Regions from separate parts of the Homo sapiens genome. Here region 2 is linked to region 1. Evidence: promoter capture Hi-C in 16 types of primary human blood cells and fetal thymus (Javierre and others, 2016). All regions are on one chromosome and are shown on one strand. Each heading gives the region's core, a stretch centred on a gene start or on the middle of the fragment in contact. The rest is flanking DNA. Distances are from core to core; before and after follow the strand shown.

Region 1 (3,127 bases), core at 309-2,808:
ATAAGTTAGGAGCAGATTGTAAAGAGGCACACCAGGAGATGTGGAATTTACTTTGTAGGCAATAGAGAACCAGCCCACCAGCCCAGACTTTCAAGTAGGGGGATCATGGAATCTTTTTTTTTGCGGGGGGGAAGGTATTTTAGAGGAAAATTTGGACAATTAGTTGAGAGGTGCAAGGTACCACCTGAATGGCAGTTGGGTAAGGACTAGAGTCAGAAGAACCACTGATGGGACTGTGGAAACAACTTGTGCAATGACCCAGCAGCCAGATATCATGCTGGTTCAGGAACCGAGGGAGGCTCTGTGAGGCCAGAGCACATTTGGCTGGAGAAGGAGGAGAGGATGGCAGTAGAAGGAGAAGGAAAAGAAGGCTGCTCACTTGCATGCAGATGCTGTGAGCTGACGGGGCAAGTTCAAATTGAAGTTAGAACAGACCACTGGGGTAGTCAAGACCTTGAAGGATGAACCTGTTTCTTTTTCATTCCTGAATCTTGCCCCAGCACCTTGGAGGCTGGGGGTGGAGGAGGTGGTGAGGTGGGGTGGGGTGGTGAGGAGCTCAGAAAATGTTTTCCTGAATTAGAGAACTGAAGGAATCAAGGCTCCGCTGAGCTCACTAAGCGCTGGAGCCTGCTGTAAGTGGTCAAGTCGGGTGATACCCAGCAGACAAGTAATTTGTGTGCAGACCGGAGTAGATTACGGAGGACCCAAGGGTCAGGCTAAGGATCCTGAACACCATCCACGATAGAGTGGAGACGTGCGCTTCGGAGCCTGAACTATGCAGCAAGCAGTGTGTTTACTCAAATACTATACAGTTGGAAAATCTTAATTCTCGATTTACATTGCCAAAAAAAAAAAAAAAAAATCTCCATAATACTCCCCCATTTGTAAATAAGCAAATCCGAACTAACCCTATTCCTTGGGACCAGAAGACCCAGTTTCTACCGCGGATAGATAGCATCCGCCTTATGCTAAAAGCTCTTTTTTCTGCGGTGGTGGGGGGCGGCGGGGAGTGTTTGGAAAGAACGGTTGCAAAAACAAAACAAAACCCCCAAAACCACTCACCCAATCTCAACCACCCCAACTGATGAATTTCGAAGAAAGTGCTTTTTAAAAAAGAAAAAACTAGAAGACCACAGACCTCCCACAGAAAGCTAAACCCATGAGAGTGGCATTCAAAAACTACCCATTTTCTGGAACATCTTTTGTAGCTAAATCCCAGCCATCCTAGCCCCGGAACACTCCCGCCCTCCGTCCCCGCACCCCCACCCCCGCCGCCACACGCGCTCGCAGGCTGACGGAGGTTGGCGGTGGGGCGGCCGCTCAGGTGAGGGGCCACCCAGTCCCTCGAGGCGCCGGCGGCTGGAGCCCATTCGCTGCCGTCGCAGCAGCAGGGCAAGAGGGGGTTGGCCAGGAGGGGAGGAGGCGGAGGACGCCCGCAGGGAGTGCGGGGGAGGGGGACGGGAGGACGCTAAGGAGAGCCGGGAGGGGCAAAAGCACGGCGCGGGGAGGGGGAGCGGAGAGGGCGGGAGCGGCGGGGGCGCGCGCCGGCGCGGGGCCAGCCTCGCTTCGCCAGGGTCGCTGGCGGACGCGCGCCGCAGTCCGAGCCTCAGACGCGCGGGCGCGGGGGACGGCGCAGGGGCCGCCTGGCTGGAGCAGCCAGAGGGGATAGCTTCGTCGAGAACGGAGGACACCGGCGGTCCAGGGTCCTGGGCAGTCGCGCCAGAGCTGAGCGGAGGGCGCGGCGCGAGAACGTAAGTAGCTCCTTGCGCGTCTGGCGGTGACACTGGGTCCTGCTCGGGGGTGACGGCTGGAGCGGAGGAGGACGCGCGAGGCTGCTGCGTTGTCACTTGGACACCGCCGCGGGGTTCAGCCGAGCGCTCACCGGGCTGGCAGCGCTGCAGGAGGGGCAAAGCAGATCTCCAACTCCCTTCTCCCCTGCAGGCCCCCGACACTCCCGCGGGCGCCGAGAGGGAGCAGGGGGACCTGCGCTTGGGTGAAGGCACAGCTGAAATCCAGCAGCGCCGGCACCCACCACCCCCTCCAGCCTGTGGCCAACTTCTGCTCCGCGCCCGCACCCCACGCTTTCCGGGAAGCCCTGCCCAGAGCTCTTGCTCGTGGGCAGTTGGGCATGGAGAGCCTGCGGGCCCGGCACGGCGGCTTCCCGGGCTTGGACACGGAGGCGCGGGGCGTCACGCCACAGTGCCGGCGGGGCGAGGAGCGCGGGGGCCGGGCCGGGAGCGCACGGGCGTGTGCCTGTTCGGGCCCCTGCGGACACGTCTGGGCGTGGGCTTTGTTCGGAAGTGCGTACACCTGTGCTGACCACGGAGTTCGGGGGCGAGGCCGACTTCGCTTCTCCAGTCGCTGCCTGGAGAGGGCTCGGGGAATCGAGGCGGAACGAGAGAGACACGGAGGACAGAGGGGTGGGGCGCTTGCGGGGGCTTTGTCGGCCTTACAGGTGCGGGTCCCGGGAGTCCCTGCGCCCCGCCCTGCCTCCGAGGGCTGGGACTTGTCGGGGCCGGCGCACCGGGCTGGGGGCTGCCTGGAAAGATTGCTTTCCCAGCCCAGGCTCTTAGCGGTGGGATCTGGCATCCGCTCCGCCCGGGATGCTGTGTTGAGCCAGGAGTGATTACCCGCCCTGGAGCATCCATCTCGCAGCGAGCGCCATCTGCGCCGAGCGCCGCCCCCGGCCCCCTCCACGCCGCGCGGGTGGGCGCTGCCGCATCCTGGTCCCAGGCGGTTGGCCAGCTCAGCTACTCCCGGCCCGCATCTGCTAGAGTGCGGAGGGGGACGGGGTGTCGCAGTAGGGTGAGCAAGGGAGTCGTCATTTCTCCCAAAGCGGTGTCCTCAGGGCCGCAAGCGCTGCTGGAGGGCTCCCCGGGCCCCGGGGCTGGCGAACAGGCCGCTTCCTTCCCCGGATCGCCTCCCCTCCCGCCCGCGCCCGCGGCCACATCTTCGTCCCCCGTACGCTGGCGGGTGGCCCCTGCGCCGCGGGCACCGAGGGAGGGCGCCGAGCGGTGGCGTTTCTTTCGCACCCCGCCTCTCTCCTTCCCTTTTCTTCGCATCAGGGGCTCCAGCCCTTGGCTACCACCGGCGCAGAACTGTCCTGAGAAGAAAGCTTTCTTTTCCT
Region 2 (3,127 bases), core at 193-2,692, 220 kb after region 1:
GATGGCCTGAGAAGGATTGAGTTGTGCAAGCTGCCTGATCTTCCCAACAGGCGGCTCTTTAGAGAAGCAGTCCTGCAAGAAAACTATATGAGCCACTTTAAAATGATCATGGAGACCTCCCCACTCATCCCTTCACCACTTTACTCTTTCCCGTCATATGCTGAGGGTGGTCTGCAAAGATGAGGGGAGGCTCCTTCTGCCAACTCCATGCCCCTCGGAATCCCTAAACCACCCCAGAATTCATTTCTCTTGATTCAGACAAGGCGCATCTCACTTTCCAATTTTGAATCCTAAATATAAGTCTAGAACTAGGAAAAGTATCTTATCTAGAGCCTAACAAATAGTCTTATTTGGTTTAAACAGTGTGGTCAAATGCCAAAATGCAACTGCTAAAAATACAAGTAATATGCAAAGCACTAAAATGGAGCAAACAACAGCTACTGTATTAGCCCTCCATTTTCCTAGTAGTAAATATATACTGTGCTCTCCCTGCTCTGGGTGGCCTGTTTGTGAAAAATAAAGATAATGCTAGGTTCCACCCAGTCACTTTTCCTGCAAATGGAAAGCAAAATTTCAAATCTGGACAATTACTGTACTTCAGAATCGATTTCTCCTTTATCCCTCATCTGCATGACCTCTTTGAAGCCATTAGCTTCCTGAATAGAATATCTGTTTGGCAAGCTTTCCAAGGTGCAAGGAAGATAGCACTTTCCTGGGGCTATTCAATTGTTGGGATGTCATTTTTATTTATTTATTATTATTATTATTATTTATTATTACCATAGAGGTTGCAACTGCCAGTGGGAAGACATTAAGAAGAGATGTGGTTTGTCCCACACTTTGTTGACTTTTTGCTGTGCTTCTATAAAGTTCAATAAAATGCAGTGCTTTTCTTATTTAAAAAAAATTCATCCAGTGACCTTAATTTCAATTTTCAAAAAAATATACAATTGCTTAAGCCCATTGGAGTGGGAATGCCTAAGTAAGCATTTGCCCTGACAGATACACAGGAGGGAAAGAAAACATTTGAGAGAAATGCTTTTGTTCTCTCTTATATTAAATATATTCCCCCTTAATCTGACTGTTCAATCTGTCAAGCAGAGGGAAACAGTCACCTATGGCTAACTCAATTATCACTGCTAACGGAGAAGAGGCATAACCATGATGAAAAGAAAGTCACAGAAAAACCCAGGTGCTCCTATATTAACCTTTGCAAGTAGTAACGACAGACAGCACTGTGGAATGATTTGAATTGCATGCTAATGTAATTTCTTCCCTGCCCCTATTTCTTACATCGTTTCTCTACTACATGAACAAGTCCTTGGTGTGGGCACCAGCAACCCCTGAGTGATTGAGAAATTATGAAGCAGAAATCTGCTAACAGTCTAAAAAGTTCAATTAATGACTTTGGAGATTAACCATAGAAATATAAAAATCTAAAATTAGTGTTGGACTTGGCTTGCATGGAGCATTATCACTGTAGCAATGTCCCATTGTTAGGTATTATTACCATATGCACAGTGATGTCTGGGATAATATGACCAGACACTACACAGTATGTGACAACTCAAATTAATTGTAGATTTCAGCTGTTTTTCAAATTGAACATAATTACTTGTCCAACACAACATATATGGAATGGAATTCGCTATTCCTATTCCTGGAAGAACTCGTTTGCCTACAGCATTGCTTTTGTTCTTCCATATGTTTATGTGGGAAAGCTGCTGCAAGATTAAAGGAAACCGTTAATGCAAATTTCTTCGTCTTGCAACTTCACAAATTCAACCTTCACTATACAGGTTTTCTTAGATCAAATCAAATAGACAAGATGCCCCCTTTATCTTCAGAGTTCTAACGTTCTTATTATTAACATCTGATTTTCTTTAATCCTCTTTGCCCACTTACCTGCTGATATTGATGGGGAAAAAGCAAAACTTCTTGAAGACTGTAAGTGTCCTTCTATAAATTACTAGGCAGTGTGAAAATGTGACCATGTCTTTGCTTTTTGAATTAATATTGTGATTTAAATGCACAATTTCATGTTTTGTGACCTTTGTCTTTCTAAGCATGTGTGTTTACTGTAGCTAAACATTGTATTTCAATACCAAGAAGCAGTTGTAAAGTATTATCTGCATGAATTCTGAAAACTTGGCTATTACTCTTTCTTTTACCAGTGTGCTGCTCTACTAACTTCCAAGCTTTATTCACATCTGATGTAACTCAATGAGAAAATTCTCAAAATTTAGAGAGAATGCTGATCTGTTGTAAAGGCTAATTAATGCTTTCTGGAACAAAGATAGGTCTTTTTGTGTCTTTTAGAAGGTGGGTGCAGGCAAAAGCTTTACACAAGATGGCAGCTGTATGTCCTTTTATGCTTCTTCAGCCTTCGTGACTATGTAGACTAGTATTTCTAGGTGCCATCAGTAGACTAACCCAGCGAATTTGAATCTTGTCTTGAAGTGGACAAAAGATAAGCAGCTCCCACTCACATGGTATTTGAATGGCTTGCTCTGAGCAAAACTTTCCACTGCCTTTGACAGGTGGCATTTATCACCTAGTTTAAAAATAGTCAGTTTTCAGGCATTTGATAATTTCCTTTGATGTTAGATTAACCAGGAAAATTATGTAAAATCACTGTTTTTCTTACTACTGAAAAGCATTTGTTAATTAGCAGGTGACCCAAGCACTGTTTAAGGAGGTATATCCAGACAGTAAACTCCTGGCAGTTAGGAGTGACATCTGAGCCAGCTCTGCTGCAGACCTGTGAATAGAAGCTCTGCCTCTGAAGCCACCAGATTTGCACCTGTGTCACTCCCAGAAAAGCACAAGGAATTGAACTGAGTCACTCCTAAGAATCCCCTCCCCCACTCCCTATGGCCACTATTCCTTGGATGTGGAATTCCAGGCTTCCTTCCATTATCCCAAATTCTATATACTCCCAGAGCCTGAAGGATCATTCAGAGGTGAATCTGGTCCAAATAAAAAATGATTATGATAATAATTTTAAAATAGCTGATGTTATTGAACCATTATAACATTGGTATACACTGAGAATTTTATAGTAATTATTTTCTTAATCCTGCTAGCTATCCTAGGTGGTAATACTACTTTTAAACTTTATTTTCCC

What was found. Contacts are between HindIII fragments. The CHiCAGO score rates a contact against its expected background, and 5 or more counts as called.
Region 2: a fragment that was not itself captured here is called in contact with the fragment with the promoter of NRCAM in region 1 in 1 of 17 cell types (endothelial precursors); the score reaches 5.6 in endothelial precursors.

Annotation. Positions count from the first base shown.
Region 1 is chr7:108,454,867-108,457,993 of GRCh38, reverse strand. It overlaps NRCAM (neuronal cell adhesion molecule), which reads left to right and starts at 1,558. Exons shown (of 33, transcript NM_001037132.4): 1 at 1,558-1,751. The HindIII fragment of the contact is 7,436 bases long and covers 1-3,117 here.
Region 2 is chr7:108,236,572-108,239,698 of GRCh38, reverse strand. It overlaps NRCAM (neuronal cell adhesion molecule), which reads left to right. Exons shown (of 33, transcript NM_001037132.4): 5 at 1,930-1,947. Among named protein-coding and RNA genes, the nearest start is that of LAMB4, 110 kb to the right of the region's middle. The HindIII fragment of the contact is 1,517 bases long and covers 684-2,200 here.